Linked DNA regions of Homo sapiens: region 2 is linked to region 1. Evidence: promoter capture Hi-C in human tissues and cell types (Jung and others, 2019). All regions are on one chromosome and are shown on one strand. The core of a region is centred on a gene start or on the middle of the fragment in contact, and the rest is flanking DNA. Distances in the headings are between cores, read along the strand shown. Region 1 holds the start of SGCZ (sarcoglycan zeta). Region 2 has its middle 92 kb from the start of SGCZ.

Region 1 (5,322 bases), core at 2,225-4,724:
ATTTTTTGTATATTTAAAGCATCATAAAAACCAAAGTTCTGTGTGGATGTGTTTTAATGTAAGCATTATTAGATGATAAGAAAAGTCAAAACATGCAAATAATGCCAAAAACAAGTATCCTAGCTTTTTTCTTCCCTCTCTCCACTGATCACACCGGGAGGCTCTTCAGCAAGAAGCCACCAGAGACTAACTTGAACTGGAATGTCTAGGAAACCAAGCCAACCAACTCCGCTAAAAACAAGAAATCTAGACAAGTTATTCCACGCGCACTGCATCCATCTCTACAAACTGTATATATTTCAGAAGGATTCCACAGCCTTCGTATTCCACAAGTGTAGTCAAAACTGCCAACATAAATTTATTCCCAAAACTGGAGGATCTCAAACATTTTCTAATAAGGCTTGACTACATCTCCTCACTTGCCAGTTTTGACCCTCAAAAGTAGCTTGTCCTTGACATAATTTCTCAACAACCTCAATAGATCCTTGTATCTAACATGCCTTCATTTCTTCCCAGTCAGTCATTGCCAATATACCCCCTCATGCCCAAACCTTTCCAGTTCCCTACCCTCTGCTGCCAGAGCACTAAGTCCAGTACACTCTGGCTATGAGGATCTCTGGATTATCTGTGCAGGAGTAGTGACATTAAGCTGAGATCTTCTACTAATTCTAGACATAAGTTTCCCCAGTGGGTTTGCTCTTTTGCTGATTTAAACAACAATGTATTGGCACTGGGGTTCAGAGTGGGATAAGCTAGGAAACTAAAGGGATTTCAGGGGAAAGAATCACCCCAAATCATTTCTCCCTTCCATTTCTCTTAACAGAACGCTCTCTTCTGTGTCATACCCTAAAGTTAACCAAAAAATAATCTGGATACTCCACCTCTGCATAAAACACAGATCACAATCATTATCATACATTCTTCTTCGCATCTCAGATAAAACCTACCCCTTCTCCCAAGAGACTGGGATGCTTGGGAAAGAGAAGTAGGGAATCTTTGCAAACATAAAGGCAATGTGTCCTATCGGAGTAGAGCAGAGAGATAAGAGGAAACTTCTAGCCCAGGCCAAGGTCTACTGACTATGATCTTGGCAAAAACACAGAAACTTGTTGGCCAACTTTAAACGAAGCATCAAATCTGCCTCCTCCCTACTTCCCTTTGCCCAGGGAACTCAGTCTTCGGTGGAAGTGGTGTTCTAGGTCTTCTCACTGTCCTCCCTCCGTCCTGGACTGCATCTACAGTCAGTGGCAGGGCGATTCTGGCAGGCGCCACTGTTCTCTGTCCCTCCTTCCTTCCCCGTCTATGCAATCTGGGGCGCCTGGAGAACTGGGCTCCTGCGTGCCCCCTGGCCAGGGCACAGGACAGGCTGCAGACAGAGGCTTTGGAGCTCTGCAGGGGATTTTGCAGCCTGCCTAGCTTGTCGGATAAACCCATTTCCTTGACATTTCAGGGCAAACCTCTATTCGTCGTTTCTCCAGCGGGTGGGGGGGTGCCTAAACATTCTCACTGATCAAAGAAGCCAGAATCCATCTGAACCTCTGAAATAGTAGAACGTACCAAATGCCTAGGGGTAAAGAAGGGTGGAGGATTTCAATAAAAGAGGTGCTTCCAGTGTCGCCCCCTTTCCCGCTTTTTCGTTTACGGTGAGCGGGACATTTAAAGTATTTTGTGGTTTGTTGGTTTTTTAAAGTTTTTATTTATTGTGTGTATATAAATATATATATTTTTTTTTCTTGAAGGGAAGCAGGCAGAGGTGCCCATAGGCAGAGGGGCGCGTTGTCACCCCGGATGCTCCCTCCGGGCAGGCCCTCACGGCCAAGCAGGGGACCCCAGAGGGAGAGGGCGCGGCGCGGGGAACCCGCGGAGCGGCGGGGGGCTCCAGGCTGGTGGGAGACCGTGTGCGGCCGGAGCCTCCGCAGATGCCGCCCCTACCAGCCCGGCTCCCGCCTCCCCGCCCCCTGCCCGAGTCCCCGGACCTGCTCCCGCGCCTGGGGCTAGGGCAGGCTAGCCGTCCCCGGCAGCGGGGGTACCTCTCCAGCCCCTGCACTGCAACTGCGGGAGGAAACACTGCCCGCGGGCGGTGGGAGGGAAAAGGGGTCTCACGAAGTTCTGGGATAAAAACGGGCTGTCGTTGCAGATGCCTCTGTCACGCGAATCTCCGAGCGGAAATGCACTGTCCCCGTGCCGGGCTGGGGCACAGGCGGGATCGGAGCCGGGAAGAGGAGGCAAAGTGGCGGCGCAGCTCGGACAACTTTGCTGGGAAAGCAGGCGACAGCGGGCAGAGCTGGTGCCGCTGCCCCCCCCGGGGAGACGAGCCGGCAAGAGGCGCAGGGTCTGCACCCCAAATGCTGCCGTCACGGACCAGGAGGAGGACGGGGTGGCCGCTGGCGGGAGGAGCAGGCGGGGAGGGCGCCCAGCCCGGGAGTGCAGCCTGGCTCGGGAGAACCACCCTCCGTGTCCTCGGCCCCAGCAGGGGCGCCTGCGCCCGGGTGCGCGTCCCCCCAACGCCCCCTCGTCGTCCCGCGGGACCACCAACTACTCCGCGCCGCTGGAGGAGCCGCGGGAAGGAGAGGGGAGAGCAGGGAGCGCCGAGAAGCGGCCGCGAAGCCCGCCCGGACCCGCACGTACCTTGAGCTCCTCAATGTCCAGGTTCGTTGATCTGTCCATGGAGCGCAACTAAACGAAGTGGAGAGGAACCGGGCGAGTGGCACCCAAAAACAATCTAGTCTTTTAGTTTCCAGCTTAAACTCAGCTTTATCCTCCTCCAAGCCCCGGCAGCTCCTCTCAGTCTCATTCTCCGTGGTCACGCCGCCTCCACCGGGTTAAAAATAAGGAAAATAAATAAATAATAATGATAATTCACTTTATTTTACTTCCTCAAAGATTTAGTGACAGGTGATCTCTACCGCGGTGCAACACAGCTGAGTCGATTGAAACAGGGGCCAAAAGAAAAAAGGAAAAAAAAATCCACTCTATTTAAGATTATTTCTTCTTCTGCAATAAGCTTAGAACCCAGCGAATTGCTGCATCCCGAGAAAAAAAGCTGCTTCCCTGGTCAGCATCATGCGGCAAATTTCAAGCAAATGTGTTCAAACTGAAGAGAAGAGTGTATGATAAAAGGCTTCCTCCGTCAGGCTTACTCTGGTAGGTAATTTAGCTCCAGTCCCAGGCATTAGCAATGATCAGTTTCCCCGGCAAGATAACAGAATCCCCGAAGTCCTGCATAGACTTAAAAAATGTCTTGTAGCTGAGAGGTATTTTCTCAGTGGGGAAAAGAAGATAATCAAGTCAGAAGGGAACGTTCTCCTTTGAAGGTTATGCTAAAAGAGTTGAGGGAATAGGAGGTGGATCCAACGGAGAGAAAAAGAGGGAGAGAAAGAGAGAGGGAGAGAAAAATTTTCCTCCTGCTTCGCTGTTTTACTGGCCTTCACCACCAGGTGACTGACTTCGCTTCTCTCTTCCCACAGCCAACACTAAGGGGATTTCTCTCATCTGTCAAAAAGCAACATTTCCTCTCCAGACAAATACTATCGCTGGGTCTTAAAGCCTGCCCTGTGTCCGGAATCCACTAGGTGACAATCATTTTAATTCATTGCGTACATTGCTTCATCTTCCTGCAGATCTGGGAGGAACATGCTTGTGTGTATCACCCACATGTATTTAAATATACTCACTTCAGATCTCTGCTGCTTTCAGCATCAGATTTTTTAATTTAAAAAAGACTTTTATAGAAAGTGACAGATAAGAATATTAAAGGAAATTTCCTGGAACGATGCTTCTTATGATAAAGCAGTCTTTTATTAGAAAATTGTTCTTTACATAGATTCTGACAGGTCAGTGCATTTAACTTGTAGGTTGTAGATTTGGGGAAAGGGCTCGTTTTCTTCATTTAAATGTCTCAGTGTAAAACTTGACTTTTGAAGCGTTTTAAAGACTCTTGTTTTATTATGACACATAAACTATTGAGACTTAAAGATGTTTACAGATTTGGAAACAGAGCTGTATAAATACTTTTGTTTCAAAAAAAAAGTGTTTCTTTTTTTAGGATTTAATATGCACATTCCAGTCTCATGGTCTCTCTCTAACATCATCTCCGTCCTCTGCCTCCCTGAATTCCAGCCACCTAGTCTATTGGTCCACCTGCCAGTACTGGCTCTTTAATTCCCATTCTTGCCCCCTCGTTAAGGACAGCTGTCTCTCCCCCTAGTTCTTTATAGTTTTAACACTTCTGCTTCTGACTAAAGTCACCTGAGCAGAGAAAAATTTTTCTCAGGTGAGTCTGTCAGATATTCTCCTTTATCCTCTTGTCGTAGCAGCATTCTTAATTTACCATTATTTAATGTATGCTGTTATTATCCGTTTGTTTGTTTGACTCCTCCAATAGACTATAAACTCTTGAAGGCATGTTCTGGACGGTTCTTATTCACCAAATGTCCCAAGAGCCAAGCAGCTAATAAGCACACAAATGTGCATGGAACAGATAAATGTGTGGAAAGAAACCTTTACAGTTAATATTCTAATGTCTGAAACCCTGATGACTCCCCTCCTCCCCTCACCGGCACCAATGGAGCACATCCCAGTTTTTCTCCTTCTACTTTGCAGCTAAGCCTGGAGGGCTCAGCTTTCTCATGGAGGATGTCCATTTCATTAGTTTAAGCCTAGTCTATTCCATGCACTTGCCTAAGCTATCTTTCTTTCAAACTTTGACTTCTGACTACAGCTTTTAAGATTAACATCAAGTAGCCAAAAGTCCATAATGAGTAGGGCCAAACATCAGATTCTCAAAATAAACTTCATGTGCTTATAAGACATAATTATTTTGCATAATATATGATGAAAAATAATAAAGGTTCAGGCTGAGAGTAGATGAACTTATATAAGACTTTTAACTCTAAAAAAGAGCTTCTCTTCTAGAAAGTATCAACAATTCAACATGAACAAAGATAACTACTAGGATGATGCAAAAGTAATGGCAGTTTTTGCCACTGAAAGTAATGGCAGAAAACACAATAACTTTTGCACCAACCTAATACATAGGCTTTTGAAAGTCAAGTCTTTCCATATGAAAGAATTTGAAATTCCCTGTCAACTAGTCATTGCCTAACTTTAGAAAATTGAATAAAACAAGCAAATTTATTTTGAACATATTAGCAAACTGATATTATTTAAGGTAAGTTTTCAATTTGCAGTTGTGAAAATGTAGTTCAAGGAAGGTATCCATAGAAAAATGTTGATGTTTAAATATTATTCACAAAGGGAAAACTGCAGTTTCTTAATATGACATATTATAGTTGAAAGAAAAAATGATATTGTTCTTAATTT
Region 2 (5,362 bases), core at 609-3,108, 91 kb after region 1:
ATCATTTCCCCTCCAAAAAATGCTGTAATCTTAATCTCTCTCCCTCTTCCCATGGAGTAGAAGACAGACAAGGAGCTGTCAGTGTTAAACAGTCAAATGAGGACAATTCCCTGGGAACGAGAAGCTGAAATAAATGATCTTGAAATAACTTTTCTGGGTTGAAAGCTACTTTCTTTCCCTAAACCACCAGCAAACTCCAGACTATTGCATATCAGATAGAGACATTTTAGCTCTTTGAGTCGCTGTGTTTTGGAATCCTTTTGGAGCAACTAGCTTAGCCTGCAACTTATCCAATACAGCAGCTGAAGAGGAAATGCTTGTGTATTTCCAATATACAAACTATATTAAGAAGAAATTGCAAACATAGTTGCAAAGAATAGAAAAAAAATGAATATTTCTGCCTTGAGTACTTGAATTTTGAGCAAGTCTGTACCAATTCCAGTTAGATAAAAGACCAATTCAGTCTCTCATTTCTTGGCTCTTGCATACATTATTTCCTCTACAGGAACATGTTTTCAACCTTCTTTTCCAGAAAAAAAACTCTGCCAGTCTTTCAAGTTTTAACTTAAATGACACATTATACAGGAAGTTTTTTTGCTAAAATCCATACCATGTATTATTTATCATTCACATGGATCCCACTGCATTGTAATTACTTGTTTAGTTGCCTGTGTTCACCACTAGATTGTATACTCCTTGATGACAGGGACAGTGTCTATTGTGTGTGGTATTTTATAACAAAAGCCTATTTTAATGTGTGGTATGTGGTAGGTTCTCAAATAATATTTGTTGAGTCTTGATTATATTGCTCAGTTAATTATACAAAATGAATCTATTATTGCAACCTCCACCTATCTCAAGAATTGTATATGGTCCAATTAAACAAGAATTATACAAGAAAGTTGCAAAGTCTAAGAAGCTGTATCTACAGCCTCTTCCCAAACGTAGCTGCCCTTCCTCTCCAAAGATAATCACTATCTTGACTTCTAACACCATTGATTAGTTCTGCTTGTCTTTGAACTTTAGTAAATAGAATCATTCAGTATGAGAATATAAATTATGGGAGGAAATAAGAATAAATCAAAGCATTAACAGATGAGAATTAAGTGTTGTAAAATCTGAATAATTATAGCTGGAAGCTCACTTATATGGGAATAATTAATTTACTTTAAAAAGTGAATATTTCCTATTTACATTGGATTTTTACTTGTCAAATACCTACTTTTAGTATTAGTGTTGACTTTGTAAAGAATCTGACTTCTGGCTAATATTAAGAAAAACAAATATCTGCTCTTTGAATGTTTTTTAATTGTGAATTTAACAGATTAAATTAACAAAGCTTAAAACTTAAGATTGCTAATGTTCTGTCTTATAAAACTATTTTATTTAAGTGAACTTACTGAAAAGATTATTTTAAATCTAATATCAGATGTTCGTAAACTTCAACTTGAACATTGTAATGTATATTGAACTTGTATATAGCAGTATAAACTTTTTTTCCTTCTTTATCTAAGCTCACTTAAGTTTAAGACAGTAACTTACACAAAATGATTCCCTCAGCTGCAATCTCCTAGAAAGAGCTTTCCTCTGTCATTTATGTTATTTTCAACCTTAAGCCTCTACACAGTCCACATAGATCTTTATTAAAGATATCTACCTGCCATTCCAGCATCACAAAAGATTATCATTGACATTATCTAAATGCTATCATCTTCCTTATACATACAAGATATTTATTTTCCTTGAAATAAGAAAACAAGCAGATGTTAAAGAAATGGACTGTGTTTCCACATATCTCTCCCTTATCTTCAATGGTCTCATTAACTCAGTAGGCAATACTCAATCATCTTTTGTATATCTATTACTCAAAATGGATTTGTATCTGTTCCGAACTCTACTACCTCCTTGTCATTGATTTTTGACTTTAAAGGAGTATGAAGAGATTGCAAATACTTACACTTTTCATGAACAAATGATTGGAAAGATCCATTTTGTATTATTCTGCTTCCTTCTTACCTTTAAGTATATGAATATGTACATATTCACACACATATATAAAAATACATATTCATATAAAATGTTTGAAGCCATATAAATATAGACACAGGTATAGACATAGATAGCTGTTTTTTATTCAGGTCATTTTTCTTTAAATCATACATAAAGAGAACAACAAACCTGCGTTATCATAAGTGGCAAGCTTCATAACATTTAATTTCCAGAACTTGTTCTCTGAACCTACTGACTTGATATAACTTGAAATAACCTTTAGCTGTTCATAAAATTTAACAAGAGGAATAATTCTGAAGTCTGAAAGGAATATATTAATATTTGCAAAATAATAGAATTTAAACTCAATGTTGGTCACTTTAATTTTAAGGTAACGTAAGAAACTAACTTCACCAAAAATAACACATCTTGAAAAATGAAACAGATACAATACTATATGAAAGAAGGTGTGTGAAAAGATAACTAACTGTATTACAAAAATAGAAGATATATTGAGAGACTATTTAATAAGTCCTTGACTTTTAATAAACTTCACACCGCCCAACATCTGAAAATGCATTAGGCATGTAACTCAGTTTTTAAAAAAAAAATTATAGAGAAAATTTATAGACTTCCACTTATTATTCTATAATGTGAGGAAATAGAAATAGCCTAGTTACCATTATCTGCTTAAGAGGAATGACATCATTCCCCAGCCTTCTCTTCTCCAGACCAAATCACCCCAATTTCCTTCTTCTTTTTTTTATTAGTTGAATTTTAATCACCTTTTTGGAGCTCAACCGCAAAGCTATAAAATGTAGCCGCTGACAAAATTAGAGTGGGAAGATAAGAAGTTAATCTAAACTGTATGTGGATGAAATCCAAACCACAGCAAGCTTTTCATGGTCTATATTCATTGTAAAATTCAAGACATAATAAGAAAGGTCACCACATTACATTTAAATTCAACATTACTATTTTATTGTATCCAACTCTCATGCTAGTTTTCTTAACTGTGATTTATTCACTGTAGTATTTTGCCCTCTATTTTACAATTGCCAGGTTTTTGTGTTATATTTGTGCATTGTAAGGTATGCCTAGAATTATATTTGTTTAACATCTTTTTTCTTCTAAATTTTATAACTTCACACTTATTTGAATTTCCCGTCTGACCCATATTCCCATGTGAATTCACCATGATTAGTTGAATTTGATTAGGCTTTTCACCATGACTGTGTGGGCTTATTCTGTCCATGGGTAAAATTCTCTATATTGTAGTTATCAGTCAACTCACTCATCTTTACAAAAATAACCAACTTACCTAATTACAGCTGCCTTTTCTGACGGTGTCATCCTTCTAAACAATACATGCATCACTGTCCTCATTCCTCTCTACATCTGGGAACTTAGGCCTTGACTTTTCATTTTAATCATCAATGTTAGACAGCTGTAATAAGTTACAGTAGCATGACTACACTATGATAACCTTATGAACTTATTAATGTGGATGTGGATAAAGAAAATGCCAACATCCATTGGTCTCAAAGTTCTTTCATTAATAGTATATGTACCAGATAATCTACATGTCTTAAACTTCATAGAAGCATAGATGTTCAATTTGAATAAATGTGTGACACCCCCTAATCCAATTCCTGGGCTTATACTTAAGTTTCTTCAATTCACTCTCTTGGGAAGCAGCCTATTTTATTTTCAGATTTTCAACTATCTTACATGTTGAGACGATTTATCAGCCACACTTCACTCATGGGCCATAGTTCTGTCCTTGAGGCATGGCAGACAGTTTCTTCTGCTTTTCTGATATTTCTCATATTTGAAGACAGTTCCCATTTCGGCTTCAAATCTCTTTTTTTTCAGTGTAAGTGTTTTCAGGTTTCTCTCATTCAAAGCCTCCTCTACAAGCTTTAATTTGTTGAAATCCTTCCTAAAGTTGACACAACATATGAAGTATTGCTAATCAGTGTACAATTGTGCAAGAGCTCTCTTATTCTAAATATTTCACTTTATTTAATGTACTCAACAAGTACATTAGCATGTACGCAGTTACTACATTTAACTGTTCAAGTTAGTCTTCAACAAAAAACTTTAGAAGTTGTAACCACGAGAGGGATCCAAATTTCAATCATGCATCATGTTAAAGTCCATAAGAATACGTGGCCCTAAAACATGATGTGCAAAAAAATAATAATTTAGGTTTATATCAGACCAATTGCTTATTAGAATTAGATGGATGACTTTTATATAGCTTAATAGGCAAATGCAAAATCCAATCCAGTTGAATACTGGATTGGAAACTGCCAGCTTGGGAAGGAATGGAAAAAATTAGGTAACTTGTTTTACTGACACCTTAAGGTCCTGGAGTAAATCAAATTTAAAGCATTATGGAATCACTGATATAAAATTTTCCATTGGGGTCTGTGCACACATCTCATTGTAGTCACCAACAAGAATCCAGTTGGTGAACTGGCCAAAATTTGGGGTCTTTCTGCTTTGTCCAGCACACTGAGAAGGTAACTCTCTAAATTATGATTCTTTAGTGGGGGTTGAGATCAATCACCTTGGATGTCTACACCTCTAGAAGTCACACTCAGGAGACATCTCTGGTCAAAAGTAATTTCAGTTAACTGAGAATCAAAACTATAGCATTAATATTTTATACATAGGAAGCTGTGCGGTTTTGATACTTTGAGAAAATGGCCTAGTAGAGTGATGGCTTTGTAATTTCCATTTAAAATGTGTAATTGAGTAACTAATTTAGACTTGTGATTGTTAGAAGAAATGTTACAAGTTTATATCTAGAATTAAACCAATTAGAAGAACTTTTAGTTTCACTATGTTTATTAAAGTTGATTAACTTTAGAATAATTATTTAAATACTTGGGAAAGCATCAAACAAGATGAGATAAATTGAATACATTTAACTTACAAATCCAGTTGTAAACAGAAACCAGTATTATTCAAAGCTCACTACAGTGATCATTAAAAAATGCACAACTTATACATAAAATAAAAAATTCATAAGCAAGATATATAAAAAGAATAATATGTTAATGATTTAAAACTCGACAGAAACTTGAGTTTATGAATCTCAATTTTATTAGATTGCCTATTAATTTCAAAAGCTAGAATAAGATTCTCAATAGTCTCTTTAGCACAGAATTTCTTTGGTAAATCACATTAACAGTTTTCAGGATTTATTGAGTGTTCACTATATACCAGGCAATGTGCTCATTATACCATTTACCTGTATATTCAAAATATTTGTATACCCTTTGTGGCCAATTGAGCTACTCTGCCCAAATAAACTGATAAATCTTTCTGTTACATGTTAGGCTTTCATAATTAACAGTTTCCA

The links. Contacts are between HindIII fragments. The study calls those that stand out against the background at their distance.
Region 2: a contact is called between a fragment that was not itself captured here and the fragment with the promoter of SGCZ in region 1, in 4 of the 25 tissues and cell types used here (H1 embryonic stem cells, dorsolateral prefrontal cortex, hippocampus and 1 more).

The regions. Positions count from the first base shown.
Region 1 is chr8:15,234,957-15,240,278 of GRCh38, forward strand. SGCZ (sarcoglycan zeta) reads right to left here and starts at 3,475. Exons shown (of 8, transcript NM_139167.4): 1 at 2,629-3,475. The coding sequence starts at 2,667. The HindIII fragment of the contact is 17,338 bases long and covers 1,368-5,322 here.
Region 2 is chr8:15,327,474-15,332,835 of GRCh38, forward strand. No RefSeq gene overlaps it. Among named protein-coding and RNA genes, the nearest start is that of SGCZ, 92 kb to the left of the region's middle. The HindIII fragment of the contact is 3,077 bases long and covers 321-3,397 here.